Regions from separate parts of the Homo sapiens genome. Here all the other regions are linked to region 3. Evidence: promoter capture Hi-C in human tissues and cell types (Jung and others, 2019). All regions are on one chromosome and are shown on one strand. The core of a region is centred on a gene start or on the middle of the fragment in contact, and the rest is flanking DNA. Distances in the headings are between cores, read along the strand shown.

Evidence for each region. Contacts are between HindIII fragments. The study calls those that stand out against the background at their distance.
Region 1: a contact is called between a fragment that was not itself captured here and the fragment with the promoter of TMA16 in region 3, in 1 of the 25 tissues and cell types used here (mesenchymal stem cells).
Region 2: a contact is called between a fragment that was not itself captured here and the fragment with the promoter of TMA16 in region 3, in 4 of the 25 tissues and cell types used here (H1 embryonic stem cells, aorta, heart left ventricle and 1 more).
Region 4: a contact is called between a fragment that was not itself captured here and the fragment with the promoter of TMA16 in region 3, in 1 of the 25 tissues and cell types used here (hippocampus).
Region 5: a fragment that was not itself captured here is called in contact with the fragment with the promoter of TMA16 in region 3 in 1 of the 25 tissues and cell types used here (lymphoblastoid cells).
Region 6: a fragment that was not itself captured here is called in contact with the fragment with the promoter of TMA16 in region 3 in 1 of the 25 tissues and cell types used here (mesenchymal stem cells).

Annotation. Positions count from the first base shown.
Region 1 is chr4:163,222,796-163,225,910 of GRCh38, reverse strand. No RefSeq gene overlaps it. Among named protein-coding and RNA genes, the nearest start is that of NAF1, 57 kb to the right of the region's middle. The HindIII fragment of the contact is 4,814 bases long and covers 1-3,115 here.
Region 2 is chr4:163,135,123-163,138,009 of GRCh38, reverse strand. NAF1 (nuclear assembly factor 1 ribonucleoprotein) reads left to right here. Exons shown (of 8, transcript NM_138386.3): 6 at 760-811. Among named protein-coding and RNA genes, the nearest start is that of NAF1, 30 kb to the left of the region's middle. The HindIII fragment of the contact is 4,272 bases long and covers 1-2,887 here.
Region 3 is chr4:163,492,951-163,496,040 of GRCh38, reverse strand. It overlaps TMA16 (translation machinery associated 16 homolog), which reads right to left and starts at 1,351. Exons shown (of 7, transcript NM_018352.3): 1 at 1,237-1,351. The coding sequence starts at 1,239. LOC124900805 (a long non-coding RNA gene) reads left to right here and starts at 817. Exons shown (of 2, transcript XR_007058354.1): 1 at 817-879; 2 at 1,145-3,090. RefSeq lists enhancers at 775-924, 955-1,094, 558-1,460 and a cis regulatory region at 2,742-3,013. The HindIII fragment of the contact is 18,907 bases long and covers 1-3,090 here.
Region 4 is chr4:163,046,818-163,049,816 of GRCh38, reverse strand. No RefSeq gene overlaps it. Among named protein-coding and RNA genes, the nearest start is that of MIR4454, 45 kb to the left of the region's middle. The HindIII fragment of the contact is 5,549 bases long and covers 1-2,999 here.
Region 5 is chr4:163,096,474-163,099,196 of GRCh38, reverse strand. No RefSeq gene overlaps it. Among named protein-coding and RNA genes, the nearest start is that of MIR4454, 4.2 kb to the right of the region's middle. The HindIII fragment of the contact is 7,940 bases long and covers 1-2,723 here.
Region 6 is chr4:163,027,661-163,030,474 of GRCh38, reverse strand. No RefSeq gene overlaps it. Among named protein-coding and RNA genes, the nearest start is that of MIR4454, 65 kb to the left of the region's middle. The HindIII fragment of the contact is 3,488 bases long and covers 1-2,814 here.

The DNA of each region.
Region 1 (3,115 bases), core at 88-2,587, 270 kb after region 3:
GGCTGAGGTGGGAGGATACCTTGAGCTCAGGTGTTTAAGGCTTCAGTGAGCTACATTCTCACCATTGCACTGTGGCCTGGATGACAGAACAACACCTTGTAAAATAGAGCCAAGTGGCCATTTTCTTACTAGGGGTCACACAGTCTGCATTCCCCCAAAACCCACACCTCTGTTTAACTTTGGGACTTTCAGAGGTCACAGGAACCAACCAATCAGCGCTCATCTGCTCTGGCCAATCAGGGGTCAGTTATATCAACCAGCCAATGCTTAGTTCTTAGCTATAACAACCAATCAGGGATCAACTATATTGAGTAATCAGAATTCAACTGTGTCAACCAATTAGAAATGGGACCTTTGAATTTTTCATTTTTCAATCTGATTGGGAAGCTGGGTGGGAACTTTCTCTATAAAAGCTGAAACTTCCTTTTGTTCTCTGGATTTCACTATTCTTTATTTTTATTTTTATATTTCAATAGGTTTTGGGGGACCAGGTGGTGTTTGGTTACATAAGTTATTTAGTGATGATTTCTGACATTTTGGTGCACCCATCACCCAAGTAGTGTACACTGTATCCAATGTTAGTCTTTTATCCCTCACCCTGCCCACAATTCCCTCTGAGTCCTCAAAGTCCATTGTATTATTCTTATTCCTTTGAGTCCTCAAAGCTTAGTTCCCATTTATAAGTGAGCACATACGATGTTTGGTTTTCCATTCCTGAGTTAGTTCACTAAGAGTAATGGTCTCCAACTCTATCCAGGTTGCTGTGAATGCCATTAATTCATTTTTTTATGAATGAATAGTATTCTATGGTATGTATATCACATTTTCTTTATCCACTCATTGATTGATGGGCATTGGGCTGGTTCCATATTTTTGCAATTGCTAATTGTGCTGCTTTAAACATGTATGTGTTAGTGTCTTTTTCATATAATTAGTTATTTTCCTCTGGATAGATAGATACCCAGTAGTGAGTTTGCTGGATCAAATGGTAAATCTACTTTTAGTTTTGTAAGGAATCTCCACACTGCTTTCCATAGTGGTTGTACTAGTTTACATTTCCACCAACAGTGTAAAAGTGTTCCCTTTTCACCACCTCCACAGCAATATCTATTCTTTTTTTTTAGTTTTTAAATTATGGTCATTCCTGCAGGAGTAAAATGGTATCACAATGTTGTTTTGACTTGCATTTCCTTGATCATTAGTGATGTTGAGCATTTTTTCACATGTGTGTTGGTCATTTGTATATTTTCTTTTGAGAATTGTCTATTCATTTCCTTAGACCACTTTTTGATAGGATTGTTTGTTTTTTACTTACTGATTTGTTTGAGTTCATTGTAGATTCTGGATATTAGTCCTTTGTCGGATGCATACTTGGCAAAGATTTTCTCCAACTCTGTGGGTCGTCTGTTTATTCTGCTGTTTTTTCTTTTGCTACGCAGAAGCTTTTTAGTTTAATTAAGTCCCGTCTATTTATCTTTGTTTTTGTTACATTTGCTTTTGGGTTCTTAGTCAATCTTTGCCTAAGCCAATGTCTAGAAAGGTTTTTCTAATGTTATCTTCTAGAATTTTTATGGATTCAGATGTTAGATTTAAATCTAATCTGTCTTCAGTTGATTTTCGTATAAGGTTAGAGATGAGGATCCAGTTTCATTCTTCTACATGTGGCCTGCCAATTATCCTAGTACCATTTGTTGAACAGGGCATCCTTTCCCCACTTTCTGTTTTTGTCTGTTTTGTTGAATATCAGTTGGCTGTAAGTATTTAGGTTTATTTCTGGGTTCTCTATTCTGTTCCATTGATCTATGTGTCTGTTTTTATGCCAGTACCACGCTGTTTTGAGCATACAAGGTGACCATAGCCTGGTAGTATAGTTTGAAGGTGAGTAATGTGATGCCTCCAGATTTGCTCTTTTTGTTTAGTGTTGCTTTGGCTATGTGGGCTCTTTTTTGGTTTCATATGAATTTTAGGATTTTGTTTTCTAGTTCTGTGAAGAATGATGGTGGTATTTTGTTGGGAATTGCATTGAATTTGTAGATTGCTTTTGGCAGTATGGTCATTTTCGCAATATCGATTCTACCCATCCATGAGCATGGGATGTATTTCCATTTGTTTGTGTCGTCTATGATTTCTTTCAGCAGTGTTTTGTAGTTTTCCTTTTAGAGGTCTTTCATCTCTTTGTTTAGGTATATTCCTATGTATTTCATTTATTTATTTTTTGCAGTTATTGTAAAAGAGATTGAGTTCTTGATTTAATTCTCAGCTTGGTCGTTATTGGTGTATAGCAATGCTACTGATTTGTGTACTTTGTATCTTGAAACTTTACTGAATTCACCTATCAGTTCCAGGAGTTTTTTGGATGAGTGGTTAGGGTTTTCTAGGTATACGATCATATCACTGGCATACAGAGACAGTTCATCTTCCTCTTTACTGATTTGGATTCCCTGTATTTTCTCTCGTCTGATTGCTCTGGCTTGGACTTCCAGGGACTGCATTATTCTTTTTCACTGATAGCTCCATCTTCTTGGCTTGTAAGCTGTTCACTGGAATAATGTCTCTTTTCTTCAAATTCCATTTCAGAGAATTTTTGTCCAGAAACCATAGACACAAGACACCTTCCTGCAGCTTTTTTATCTGGAATCTGAATGGTCTTGGATTGGATTTGGTTCTTTATGTTTTTTTTTTTTTTGTAGTTGTTTTTTGTTTGTTTGTTTGTTTTGAGATGGAGTCTTGCTCTGTCTCCCAGGCTGGAGTGCAGTGGCATGATCTGGGCTCACTGCAACCTCCGCCTCCTGGGTTCAGTTGATTCTCCTGCCTTAGCCTCTCTAGTAGCTGGGATTACAGGTGCACACCACTATACCAGGCTAATTTTTGTATTTTTAGTAGAGACGGGGTCTCACCATGCTGGCCAGGCTGGTCTCGAACTCCTGACCTCATCATTCACCCACCTCGGCCTCCCAAGTGTTGGGATTACAGGCGTGAGCCACTGCACCCAGCCCTTTATGATATCTTCAAGGAACATTTGAATGGTGGAGTCATGAGGAACCTACGAACAAGCTTCATAAACTAACAGTTTCCTTAAAGTATTCTCCGATCGCTAACAATTCTAGTTGTGCCA
Region 2 (2,887 bases), core at 298-2,797, 360 kb after region 3:
CAAAATTAAAAAGATTAAAAATGAGCTTTCACAAATTATACTGCTCATAATAGATATCTGTACTTTTGTTGGATGTAAAGTGTAAAACTCTCCACCAAAAGTTGTTGATTTTCAGCTGCAATTACACATTTCACACATGCCAGTCATTATATTGTCCTTCAGAATCTTTAAAGCAGCTTCTCTTCCTCTTCCTCCAACTATTCATAGTTAGCCTTTGTTTGACCCTCACTGCTTTGAGAATCAGTGTTGGAATAAGCCTTGGTTACTCATAGAGGATTGCTGACATTCCTCAGGTAAACTGAGGAGAAAATAATTCATATTGATATCTCTGCCATTAAACCTGTAAAATCTGTGAAAAGGGAATGCCTCATAGTCATTTTTATGTCCTTCGCACATGGAACAACTTCTGATCTACAGTTGGCGTGAAATAAGCATTTTTTTTAAACTGAGTTTTGTGAAAACTGCAAATATTATGAAAACAAAAATCAAAAGAGCTGTCCATCTGCTTTCCACTGCACACCATAGCCTTGGCTTCTCATTCCAGTTCCCTAATCCTAATATTTCTACTTGCTCAACTTTTGTGTTTTTCTTAGGAGCTTCCCACATCTTTTGAAATAAGGTAAAAGACACATAACTGTATTGCAAAATTAAAGGTTGAACTCATGTCCTTTACTTTATTATTTTCTGTACTTTTAAGTTATGAGCACTTAATAGAATTGTGATGAATACTTTTTTGACTCCCATCCCCACCCCACTCAGGGATAAGGGATCAGATGCATCATGGAAGAATGATCAGGAACCACCACCAGAGGTAAGTATAAGTCTTTTTATGCAACATTTTATAAAGTAGGGCAGGACTTAATCTTATAAATTTTATCATTCTTGCTGTTAGGGAAGTCATTAATACTGGCTAGCAGCCATACTGCCTTATCCTGTCCTAGCGCATGTATTCTCTCACCGTCCTAGATGACTATTTCATACCTTTCAGTGAAAGGTTTTGATTGATCATTTAGGAAAAAAACTTTTTTCAGTTACATTTAGTTGTATTTTAATAATTATCACCTTATCATTTACATTGTAGTTTACTATTTTTGTCAACTTTGTTGATGTCTGATAAAGGCAGGCTGTCATTATTTTTTAAAAATTTAATTGAGTTTAGTAAATACACCATATGGGACATGAAGACATGGTGCTTTTAATAGCTGTCCTTCTTTTGGAAGTACAGAATCATTGGAAGCACAAGATCATTGGAAGCTACCTACCTCTCTACTTTTTACGATATAACTACCTTTCTAAAAAGAGACCTTGATTTTCTTTTTGTATCTATGTCAGCAAAACAATAGTTTTATGCCCCAAGGTGACTTGATAATCTAGTCTTCCTAGAGATGTGAAGTAAATTTAGGAATAATATGTAAATAAGTTAATGATTTAATAGGATTACTTGGTTAACATTCCATGAAAGTGTTTAAGCAGATTATCTTGAGGGGTTTTTTTTTTGAATTACAACAATGAATATATTCATTTCTTAAAAATAGCATGTATTTATACAGTATAAAATAAAAATGTATATAAATATTTTTATAAGTAAAAATTATACATGAGAGTTTTTAAAGCTTGCTCAGCAGTTCTTATGAAGTTTTCTCAGTATTACAGTTTTTTTTTTGTTTTTTTTTTTTTTAACAAATATAGACATGGGGGTCTCAGTGTGTTGCCCAGGCTGGTCTCAAGCTCTTGGCCTCAAGTGATTCTCCAGCCCTCAAGCAAGCTTCTGCCTTGGCTCCCCAAAGTGCTGGGATTACAGGCATGAGCCCCTTGCCCAGCCAGTATTACAGATTTTTGATACTTACCGATTTAACCTTGGCCATTTTAGATGTTTAAAGCAATCGTAAATCATGATCTGTGTTTCTAATTTTACTGAGGTATGAATCAGGTTTATGCCCACTTGGAGGGTTCTATACAGGTATGAATCACTTAACCAGTGAATGATCCTTGCTTAGTATCTGAATTGAAATGGAATTATGTTTTCTAATTAATGTTATGTATTTATGTGATTTCAGTTAAGGCTCTGAATATTCACTTAATGTTCTGAATTAAGTTTTAGAGTATCTATAGCATCTTATTACTGGAATTACATGTTTTAAACGTGTTTAGAGATTCATAAACATCTCAAATCATATTTCTTTTAAAATCCAGATATTCTTTTTTTCTTTTTTTGGGTAGGGGATGGAGTTTTGCTCTTTCTGCCCAGGCTGCAATGCAGTGGCACGGTCTCAGCTCACCGCAAACTCTGCCTCCGGGTTCAAGCAATTCTCCTGCCTCAGCCTCCTGAGTAGCTGAGATTACAGGCGCATGCCACCACGCCCAGCTAATTTTGTATTTTTATTAGAGACGGGGTTTCACAATGTTGTCCAGGCTAGTCTTGAACTCCTGACCTCCAGTAATCCACCCCTCTCTGCCTCTCAAAGTGCTGAGATTTCAGGCGTGAGCCACCGCACCTGGCCAAAATCCAGATATTCTAATGAATCCCTCTTGTTTCGGACCTAAGCATTGAAGTTACCAATTACAACAATGCGAGTTATTTGTAAAATTGGTTTGACTAGGTTAATTGCAAAATTACATCTCACCTAGTTCATGGTGTTTGTTTTTTCCAGGTAGCTTGAACTGGATCATTAAGTATCTTGGGATTTAATTTTGTAATATTTGTTGGTGAAACTTTGTAGTCTAGAATTATTGCCTGGTATTGATCATAGATTAAAATTAGAAATTTGTGAGGTTTAAACTTAAAAAGAGAAAAAGGAGAAACATTGCGTGATGTGAAAATAGAAAGCTTGCATAAAGGAAAATAAGAGAAATTATGTGCTATGAAATGTTGGGCTGCATAAAGGAC
Region 3 (3,090 bases), core at 102-2,601:
AAAAAGTGAAGCTCTGATAGTCAAGGACAACTACAGTCAAATACCAATCTATCTCCCCAATCACTCAAACACAATGAGATGTAATTGCTTTCATATTCCACTCTGAAAAGGGGAAAAAAACTAACACTATAAAGAGTTGGAAATCCCACAAGCAAAGTGACAAGCAAACACTGAATTTACACAAATGTGTACAATCTAAAGTACAAAATATGCGTCAGCAGTGGATCAAAATAAAGCACAAAAAACTCGCGAAACAACGAAAGAACCAGACTGTAAGACAAAAATGGCATACAATGAAAAGAGAAAAAAATGAAAAGAAACAAAGAGGCCACATTGTGGACACAATATCGTAACTTCTGACCAGATTATAAACTTTTAAAATTTTGCTTTTATTAAAAATTAATTGAAAAAAATTTATAAAGCATGTTTCTATGCAAGAATTACTCTCAAGAACACAACGATTACGTAAAAAATAGGCAAGAAACAACATACTGTTTCAAAATACAAATATATGTAGTAACTATAAAGAAAAGTAGTGAAATTATAAATACAAAACTTAGATAATGTTTGCTTCTTAAGGTTTCCTGAAAGTTCAAAGAAGGTAACACAGGGCTTTCAAAGGCTATGTTTTATTTCTTAAAACTACAAAATGGGTAAACGAGAATTCCTGAAACTGTTCATCTTTACACTTGAAATGTGCTTTAGTAACACTCTTTTGTATCTACTCAGTTTTTAATAAAAACAACAAAACTGCTTCAGTGCCCTGGAGCGAATGGGGGCGTAACGGCAGGATTCAGGGCACTAACGAGAGGTGAACGGACGCCGAGGAAGAGGCGACTAAGCCCACATACTGAGTCTACCCAGGCCAGAGAGGCAGAGGTGTGTAGGGCCAGCGATCTCAGAAGTTTTGCCAAACTCCTCGATGCGTTACAATGGAAAGGTGCCGGGTTTCCCCCAGGAAGTAGTGACTAGCGAGAAGTTAGGCACAAGGCAAAGAGGAGCAAGGCGACGTGTGAGCACTTCAGCACTCGGACGCGGAACTCTAAGGTCCAGGCGTTGGGCCTGGGACTCGCCTCCCAGAGGCTTCGCCCCGCACCCCGCACACTCCCTGAAAATAAACACTTTGCATCCTCCCCTCTCCTAGGTTCCCGAAACCGCACCCTCCCTCTCTGCCTGCTCAACAAGAGCCTTCCGGGGAACCAACCGAGCGGTTCGGGGGAGCAGGAGGGGGCCCACCATGGTGACGTCCTCGTGGCCACGGAGCAGCTCCGCACTCTAGACCCAGGTAATCTCACCAACCGCAGGAGCAGCAGCTCACAAGAGCACCCGGGCCGAATCCCACGTGGCGCCTGAGAAGCCCGCGCCGACCCAACCGGAACAGGAGAGGCGAGTGCGTTTCTCTAAAGCGTCCCCGTTAACTGAGACCGCGTCTTTTTCGCCCGTGTTGGGCTTTTAAGCTCTAGCCCAACGGACAGCCAGACCTGCGTGCTCGCCGGGAGCGGCGGAAGGGAGCTTGCGGCGGGAGGCTGAACTCTGCCTGGTGCTGAGTGCGAGGCTGGGGATTGGAGCCCGGGTGGAGACGCTACACGCTTCCGGCCCCAAGAGCGGAGCTTGCCCATCTGTCCCAGAGCACGACTCCAGAGCGCAGCAACCTCTTCAGACAAGAGGTTCCCTCTTGCGGGCTCCCGCATCTCAGGGGCTGGGACCCTCTCAAAAGGGCCGCTCGGTGTTGGCTCCCCGGAGCTCTTGCACGGCACAGGCTCCTGCCCTCCGCTTTTCCACGTACTAGATTACCTTGGGCAAGTCCTTTCCTGCACTGAGTCTTTTTTTGCCCTGCCCTGCCCTGCCCTGCCCTGCCCCGCCCCGCCCCTCTTCTCTTTCCTTTCTTTTCTTTTCTTCTTTCCCTCTTTCCCGCCTTCCCTCATTCCCTCTTTCTTTCTTCCTCCCGGGTTCAAGCGATTCTCCTGCCTCAGCCTCCCGAACAGCTGGAATTACAGGCCTCCGCCACCACGCCCGGCTAATTTTTTTTTTTTTTTTTTTTTTTTGTATTTTTAGTAGAGACGGGGTTTCGCCGTGTTGGCCAGGCTGGTCTCGAACTCCTGATCTCAGGTGATCCGTCCGCCTCGGCCTCCCAAAGTGCTGAGATTACAGGCCTGAGCCACCACGCCCGGCCGAGTCTTAGTTTCTTTATCCGGAAAGGCCACTTCCTCATATTCAAGGCCTCTGCCAACCCAGTTTTTGTTTTCTTCTCACAGCATGTGAGAGTCTTTGTTTCACCCATACATGTTAGAATTCCGTAGACAATGTAATCATTCAAAAACTATTTATTGAATGCCTACTGTGTGCCTGGTACTGGGGATACTCCAACAATATCCCTCACTCAGCTCATTTTCCAGGGGATGGAGGCATGTAAAAATATTATTTCAAATAATATAAGTACTCTAATAAAAATTAGCTGGCGGGGGCATGTAGAAAAGCTGTTTTACACATGGTGGTCTCTATAAAGTCCTCTTTTAGAAGTGATAATTGAGCAGAGACCGGAATTGTAAGAGAAAACTAGGCATGGGAAGAAGCTCCAGGCAGGGTGAAGCTGGTGTGCCTTGATATGTGTGTGCAGCTGTTAACAGTTGAGGGTAGTTGGCTAGGTCCTTGGCGTTTTGAACAAATAATTGGACAAAACACACAAATAAAGCAAGGCAGCGAAAGCAGAGATTTATTTTAAATGAAAGTACACTACTCCACTGCGTGGAAGCAGGCTGTGGCAAGCTGCTCAAAAGCACAGGTTGCAGAATTTTCTGGGGTTTAAATACCTTCTAGAGGTTTCCCATTGGTCTTCCACAAGTCTGATTGGTTGAGGAAGGGGACCAATCTGAGGCACTTTCATTTTTCAACTGCCACACAGAAAAAGAAGGGCTTGCAACTGCCAGGCAGCAACTGCCATGCAGAAAAAGGAGGGGTTGAAGGGGAGTAGTCTTTCAACTGATATCCCATCAGCACAAATCAGTCCTAGCTTCCCTGCTTCCAGACCCTATTCTCCTGCCGCACAAATACTTGTATTTAATCGACAGATATATCAATTTTTGGAAATAA
Region 4 (2,999 bases), core at 390-2,889, 450 kb after region 3:
GCCAACATACTACCTTCCCTCAAATTATTTACACTTTAGACAGACTAGAAAAATGACTTAATTGTGTGGGAAGGTAAATTACAAAGCAGAACAATGATATGAGAGTGGCTGAGAGATTATATGCAAAGAATTTTTAATAGGGTGCTCTATGCACCATAGTATTCTCAAGATAAAATCTAGAGGGGAGAGAGATCACTGCCGGATCTTAGATTACCATGTATATTTTCATCTAGATCATTTTGAAAGATGAATAGGAGAAGGAAGAGCTTTTCAAAAGGGTAAAATGGTATGGGCAAAGCACAAAAGAAGCAATCCAATTGCGTATTTGTGGGGGATGATATGTAGACCATTCCGATTTGCATCGATATTTTGTGTATGGAGTAGAGAGGTTAATTAGAACAAGGTTAGAGAAGGTTTTACAATTTTGGTTTCATTTTTTCTTTAGGAAAAAGGGGAACACTTTTGATGCTTTTAAACGAGGAGGATAACTTAAATAAAGCAGTGTTTGAGGAAAATGGATCTGATAGTAGTACTTAGTGAGGACAATGAAATGATACAGCCATGGCAAGATCTTTGTATCTCATGTCAACACCAACCAGAGAGCACCCATGATGGAAGAAGCACTGAACAACCAAGAGAACGAATGGCTCAGCCAGTTGACCCTACCAGCCTGGGTGATTGGCCACACCAGCACTGGCCCAGTGGGCACAGAAACAGTGACCTTGTTGGCAGAGATGGAGACCATATATATAAAGTCCAACAGCACAGGTCCCCCCTAACTATAGCAGTCCCCCTTTATCTGTGAGGGCTATGTTCCAAGACCCCCAGTGGATACCTATAACTGTGAATAGTACTGAACCCTGTATATACTCTGTTTTTTTCATATACACATGTATCTATGATAAAGATTTGTCTATAAATTAGGCACAGTAAGATATTAAAAACAGCACTAAGAAAATAGAATAATTATAACAATATACTGTAAGGAAAGTTATGTGAATGTGGTCTCCCTCTCTCTGTACCACAGGCCACGAAGACCCTGGAAAGCAAACTTGCACTTAAGGGACAACTGCTGCACATCTGATCTAGCCATTGCCGCTGCCAAAAGTCCCAACTGCCTACAATGGTAACTGATGGGGAGGACCTTGGTCTTCAGAAGATGAAGCAGCCACCTGGTGGCAAGTGGGCATCATTGCTCTTTTTCTACCCTGAGGAGAAACAATTAATTTTGATGGAAATATGTTACATTTTTCAGCTCCAGGTTTGCCTTTCCTACTTTTGGGGCTTTAGCCAAAACCCATATTCAAGGGCTGACATGCGTCTGATCCATTGATATGGTAACCCATGCAACATCACATCAGAGAGCCTACTTAACAGGAAAGGAGGTTTACCAATGAAAATATGAACCAAAAGGTCTACAGGTTCTGTCACATACTATACCACCCGGGACCTGCAGGGATTATAGAGCAATGGCATAGTTCATGGGAGGCTCAACTGAAGCACAAGCCCGATATGATGCACTGCAAGATGAGCTGCCATCCTCCAGGATGCAATATGCAAGTTAAATCAAGGACTAGTGTGTGGTGCTGTGTCTTCAGTTGTTAGAATACATGGGTCTGGGAGCTAAGGGGCAGAAGTAAGCATTCTCCTGCTAACTATCATCTGTACTTTCTAGCGCCACAATCATGGCTTCTGCAGATTTAGAGATCCTGGTTCCCAGAGAGGGAAAAGCTTCTAAAAGAGTTACATGAAAAGTTGCCAGCTTTAAAGAGCATTCATCATCCTGGCAGAAATAATACACCCAGATTATCAGGAGGAAGTCGTGGTGTCATTACACAGTGGGGGAATGGAGGCATCTCTTTGACATCTAGCTATCCACTTGGTTGTCTCTTGGTACTCTCTTGCCCAGTTTTCAGTGTAAATGGGTATAATAGTCATTGCCTGAGAAAGAACTGGTGGCCAGAGGCTGAGAGCCTGCAAGGATGAGGATTTGGCTCATGCCCATCAGGTGAGCCACCTAGTCCAGCAGTGGCACCAGCTGAAGGCAAGCAGGATCTAGAATGGATAGCAGGGAAAGGAAAAGATGAGTAATAGTCGTGAGACTCTGTGCGCGCTAGAGTTCATCCCACAAACCTCCCCGTTCTGTTTCTTCCCAAGAAAAGAGGACTATCAGAATCCTGGAGGAGCTGTTTCCTGAACTTACATGAAGTGGATCTGAGTGACCAAAGAGTAAATGGCATTAGATGCTGTGATGCACTGTCCAGTTCCCCTTTCAGAACCGAAGGACTTACTCTCCCAGCTGCTGGGAATGATGCCTGCTGATAATGATCAATTATTGACCTTCTCCTGTTAACTTACCTCAACAACTCCCTTCCCCAGGGCAGCCTGAATCCAACCCATGGTTGATGTGGAAGTGGGGGCTGGGGAGAGGATTATACAAGTTTGCTGTCTCAGTCATCCCTGAGAAGCCTGAGGAGAAAAAAGTTTGATGTCTTTGTCTCAACTCAGGAAGTCTCTGAAGGGTGATTCCAGCTGTAGAGTTCCTTATTACAAGTGTACATCAGTAAAACTTTTTCCTCTGCAAATACAGCTTCCTCTCCTTCCCTTCTCATCCCAAAAGTTGATTCTAGGAATATGTATGAAGTTGTAATACACTTCTTGAGCACTATTCTACATCTCAGAGTTCACCTCCTGGGAAGCCAGCTATGACAGTTACATTCTACTTCTCTACTACTCTGTTTGCCTTTATTATAATCTGCATAAATTTTTACAATAGCCCTTTTATTTCCCTCCCCTACCCCCATTCAGGCTTTAAAATAGGCCACATATCTAATGAAATTATACTGCTGTCACATTTCATTTCTCTAAAGATAGCTTTAGCACAGTCGCCTAGAAAATTGGTGAAAGACTGTTCACTTTTACACATTTAACTGTGAAATCAGGTGATGATTTACATAACAGTAGGTCTCCTACTTTTAGAAGCTTTGGAATTGATTAGA
Region 5 (2,723 bases), core at 83-2,582, 400 kb after region 3:
TGTTTAACTTGAAAGACTTCTTCTATAAGAAAGTAAACTTAACTGTTGAATGTTTAAGTTGCCCTTAGTAAAGGTTTAGTTTTGAAAAATGAAGAGAGCCTGCTTAACTTTCACTCAAACAAACCATTCAGTAGAATAAATAGGCATTGCCCTACTCCTGGGGCTGGGACCAATGTACCTCTGTCAGCTGATGGGTGGCACACGTTGGTTGTACCAAAATTTTTCCAAGTTCCAAATTTTTCTTGGCAAAACCTCTTGAAAGATGGTACAGAATGACTCAAGAAAGCTCAACTTCAGGCTGCCAGGTTTATTCTGCAGGGGCTGTGCCCCAGTAGGTGGATAGGGGGCAGCTGGGGAGCTGCTTTCTCCTGGATCCCCCAGCCCAACCCACCTTGGTCTTATCTCATATAGTATCTAAGTATCTTTCTCTCACTCGCCACCCCTCATCTCCCAAAACACATAGAGCCTAGAGAACCTAAAATTAATTTGCACACATTCGACCATGTACCACCTCTCTCTCCCTCTTCCCCATAACACCCAGTAGGAGGATTTTCTCTACATCGTATCTTCTGACTTGCTCTCCTCTTCCTTCTGACTCTAGCTAAATTTTAATGATTCTTTCTCTACACTATAAAAATTTCTATGAACGAAGTACTTCAAAATTGGTTGTTGATATACTGTTGGGAAAAATCATTAATTTTTAAAATTTTCTCTCAAGTCTGACAGTGTGGCCATTGTCTTGCTGCATAATCTTATCTGTGAATAATACATTTAACTTTCCTAGATGAATAAAAATAACATATTTATGTGATTCACTTTTCACAGGTGAATAAAAAAAGGAATCGCAAGATGTAATAACACGTACGTATAGAAAGCAAAGTAGAACTTGGAATGAAAGTCATTCCGTTTTACTGTAACAGTAAGATAAATATTTTTCATTTAGGTCCTTGACTTCCTATATTAGGTAAATGAGAGGATCGATCATCATACATTGATGCAGGGAATAGTTAAGCCAATAAGAGCAATTTGAATGAACTACGGGAAAACTCTAAAAGGGCCATTTAAAAAATATATATATATATAAAATTATCTTTGATCACCAGTAAGTCTTAGAATGATCGAAAGGAAAAGGAGGCAAGTATTGTTAGCACATTTATGTATTTTGTTATGAAACTGTTGAAGCTCACTAGAAGGTCCTGGATCTGGTGCTCAGCTCAGATGAATCCATAAAAGGGAAATTATTTTCTTCTTCCTGAGTTCTCACTAAGTGTACAGAAGCCATCAGTTTCATGTGCGTCCCTGTGAAGAGACCACCAAACAGGCTTTGTGTGAGCAATAAAGCTGTTTATTTCACCTGGGTGCAGGCGGGCTGAGTCCGAAAAGAGAGTCAGCAAAGAGTGGTGGATTATTATTAGTTCTTATAGGTTTTGGGATAGGCGATGAAGTTAAGAGCAATGTTTTGCGGGCAGGGGTGGATCTCACAAAGTACATTCTCAAGGGTGGGGAGAATTACAAAGAACCTTCTTAAGGGTGGGGAGATTACTAAGTACATTGATTAGTTAGGATGGGGCAGGAACAAATCACAATGGTGGAATGTCATCAGTTAAGGCTATTTTTACTTCTTTTGTGGATCTTCAGTTACTTCAGGCCATCTGGATGTATATGTGCAAGTCACAGGGGATGCGATGGCTTGGCTTGGGCTCAGAGGCCTGACATTCCTGCCTTCTTATATTAATAAGAAAAATAAAATAATGTTGAAGTCTAGGGGCGGCGAAAATTTTGGGGGGTTGTTGTGGAGAGAGAATGGGCGATGTTTCTCAGGGCTGCTTCGAGCGGGATTAGGGGCGGCGTGGGAACCTAAAGTGGGAGAGATTAAGCTGAAGGAAGATTTTGTGGTAAGGGGTGATATTGTGGGGTTGTTAGAAGAAACATTTGTTGTGTAGAATGATTGGTGATGGCCTGGATACGGTTTTGCATGAATTGAAAAACTAAATGGAATAAGAGGAGGAGAAAAACAGGTATAAAAGGTCTAAGAATTGGGACTACTCAGGACATCTGATTAGAGAGTGCCTAAGGAGATTCAGCATAGCCCTGCCAGCAAAGATTATTTATTTACTTCAAGAGTTAAGAATGGCAGTTTGGGGATAGCACGAGGCAAGCATGATCAGGGTGAGGAACAGGAAAGAAGGAAATATGGGGAAATGGGGGTGAATATCAGGTGGATCAGAGAGATACAGTCATGGGGGTCAGGTGTGGTATCAGGAATAATGTGGGAGGCCGGATTGAAGTCCGGGCCAGGAACAATGGTAATTGTGGGACTTAAAGAGTGAGTACAGCTGAAGGAGCCGGGGAGCAGAAAGTATATGCGTCAGGTATGAGGAAGAAAATAGATTTTGGAAGTTATGAGAAATGTAGAGAGTGAGCTGAGCATACTTTGTGATTTTTAGGGCCTCTAACAGTATTAAAGCAGTGGCAGCCACTGCACGCAGACATGAGGGCTAGGCTAAAACAGTAAGGTCAAGTTGTTTGGACAGAAAGGCTACAGGGTGTGGTCCTGGCTCTTGAGTAAGAATTCTGACCGCACTAACTATGCCTAGGAAGGAAAGGAGTTGTTCTTTTGTAAGGGATTGAGGTTTGGGAGATTAATCAGAGACGATCAGCAGGGAGAGCACGTGTGTTTTTATGAGAATTATGCTGAGATAGGTAACAGATGAGGAAGAAAT
Region 6 (2,814 bases), core at 101-2,600, 470 kb after region 3:
GATGGGTGCCTGTAGTCCCAGCTACTCAGGAGGCTGAGGCAGGAGAATCGCTTGAACCCAGGAGGCGGAGGTTGCAGTGAGCCGAGATCGCACCAGTGCACTCCAGCCTGGGCAACAGAACAAGACTCTGTCTAAAAAAAAAAAAAAAAGGAAAATAAAAGAAAATGCCATGTAATGAAAATAAAGGAATGGCAGTATCTCAAGGAGGGTATTGTGGGCAATATTAAACATCACAAAAAGTTGAGGTAAAAAATGCTGAAAATAATCCTTTGAATAACAGAAATTAGAACACACTGCTAAAAGTCACACATTGTGGTACCATTTCCAATAGACTTAATACCGTCTGTACATTTATTAAGGCTTGTTTTATTAGTGCTTGTTGAGTGAATTTTTTAAAATTTCATTTTATTTTAGATTCCAGGATACATGGGCAGAACACGCAGGTTTGTTACATAGGTAAACGTGTGCCATGGTGGTTTGCTGCACCTGTCAACCCATCACCGAGGCATTAAGCCGCACATCCTTTAGCTATTAAATGAATGTATTTGTCCACTGCATTTACACACAGAAACAATCTTGGCATTTATTCAGCATTTACTACAGTTAAACTTCTATATTATGTGAACCCAAAACATTATTGTGTGCCTCAAAAAGTTACTGCTTTACTTTTAATTCTATAAAATAATGACTTTTCAAAATTATATGTTAGACATAGAACTCGATGTTTAAGGAAATTTAATGCTTAAGGAGAAAATATATCTTTTGGCTTTTATTTCAGTTAGAAAAATGGCTCTAAATTGGAAGATTTCACTCACTTAGACAAATCTTTTAAAAGACCATTTAAAAATGACAGTAAATCTTGTTGACAGCATTGAAAGTATACATATGTGCTCTTTAGCTTATTGGAATTTAAAAACAAACATAAGCTCCATTAGAGCACTAAGGAAAAACTGGAGCACTTTGTATATAATGGGCTTTGATTGATTACCTTCTGGGAACCAGAGATTCACAAGCTTTTATGAATCATATCATGGATGAAGCATATTTTCATCAGGAAACTTTTATGACTGCTGGGTTCTTTAGGGAATTTCCATACTTTTTTTCAGATGAGGCTTTGCTATGTTGCCCAGGCTGCTGTCAAACTCCTAGGCTCAAGCCATTCTTCTACCTCATCCTCGTGAGTAGTTGGGATTACAGGCACACATCATCATGCTCGGTTCTTAGAGAATTTACTTCATGATAAATACTGAATATTTTGTTTAACAATTTTCTGCCTAAAAGCTTCTGCAATTTGGAATTTTGTCATGTTGAAAAGCTTTCAGGAAGCATGGTAGAAAAGGTTATTAGTATTTAATTTAGTGAACTGGAAAACACAACAATGGTTTTTATGGTCTAGAAAGGTATTATGAACAATATTTCTGCAAATATTTTATATTTATATTGCTATTCTGGTGTTCCCAAACACTAAATATTTCTAAATTTAGGGTCAACAGTGTTATCTCTTATGGACACAGTCTGAATATAATAATTATGAAATGAACATGTGTTTTGAGGACACTACATTCAGCAATAAACTGCAAAAGCTCCCCAAGCATATTTCTGAGGCACCCAGAAGATTATTTTGTCACACTGAAGATTTCAGCCTAAGTAAAGATAATATTTTTCTTTCAGGGAAATCAGAGTTCCTATAAGCAAACTCTAACTCATAAGACCCAGGAAAGCTGAGCTAGCTCTAAGAGTTGACCTTGATAGAAGACTGCAGACTACTGAGTTTCTCTATTGAAGTAATTGCATTGTGGCATCTTGCATTGGACATCATGAGTTGAGTCCTTCATTTGGACTAATTGATGCTTTCCTTTCCCTTTGTTTAATACTGACTGATACCCACAACTTACTGAATGCTTGCCACTAGTGTGCAACTTCTGCATACCCATGCACTTCTGCTCTTACAAGCCTTACCACAAGTCAACCCTGTTAGCAATTAAACCTGCTATGCTGGTTGAATTGCTTTTATAATTATGTAATTTACCTCTTTCCAAAAATGGTAAAATATGAACTGGAAAAAAACATGAAAATTAAGTTCAATATTTTCGAAGACTTAAAAACACTTTCAAAATAGGTGTGCATTAGATGACTCTGAAATAACAGAAGGAAAGTCATGAAAAACTTGAAATCCAAGGGGAGATTCTGTGAGGTCAAGTTGCCTTTAAAGGTCTCTATGTCCTTATTCTACTTTTAGAAGCCACAAACTAGAAATCTTAGATAATACATTCTGAGTGTGGTTGATGCAAGAAAGACAGAGAGTCTGCTCTTGGATGTTTACCCAAAGAAAAGTCTTGGACCTGACAACCAAAAGATTGTAAATAAATGTAATAAAAAATAAAAGCATATGTGTATACCTCTTTTGTGAATAGTTATTTTAAATAATCTTCTATTAACCAATCCACTTCATGCTTCTATCTCACTGGGTAAGAAGGCTTTGTGGTGTTGCCCAGATTTGCTGAATCTTCCCTTGCCAGCCTGCCGAGACCCTTACCTTAGATTTTTGACTCAGTAATTGTTGTCCCATTAAGACTTGATGCTTTATTAGTGATAATTTGTGTGAATGTGACAGGCCTAGGTGTATCCCCACCCATCACTGCAGATAAAACAGACCTAAGCCTTAATGAGGATTGTGTCTTCTAAGACAAAGCAGATAGGCCTGGAGTGCCATGTGAAGCAAAGAATCTCCCAGAACCTGGCATCTAACAGTGCTCAATAAATGTTGGTTGAAATAAATGTTCCTAAATCTCCCAGCTGGGCAGTGGTTCTGCT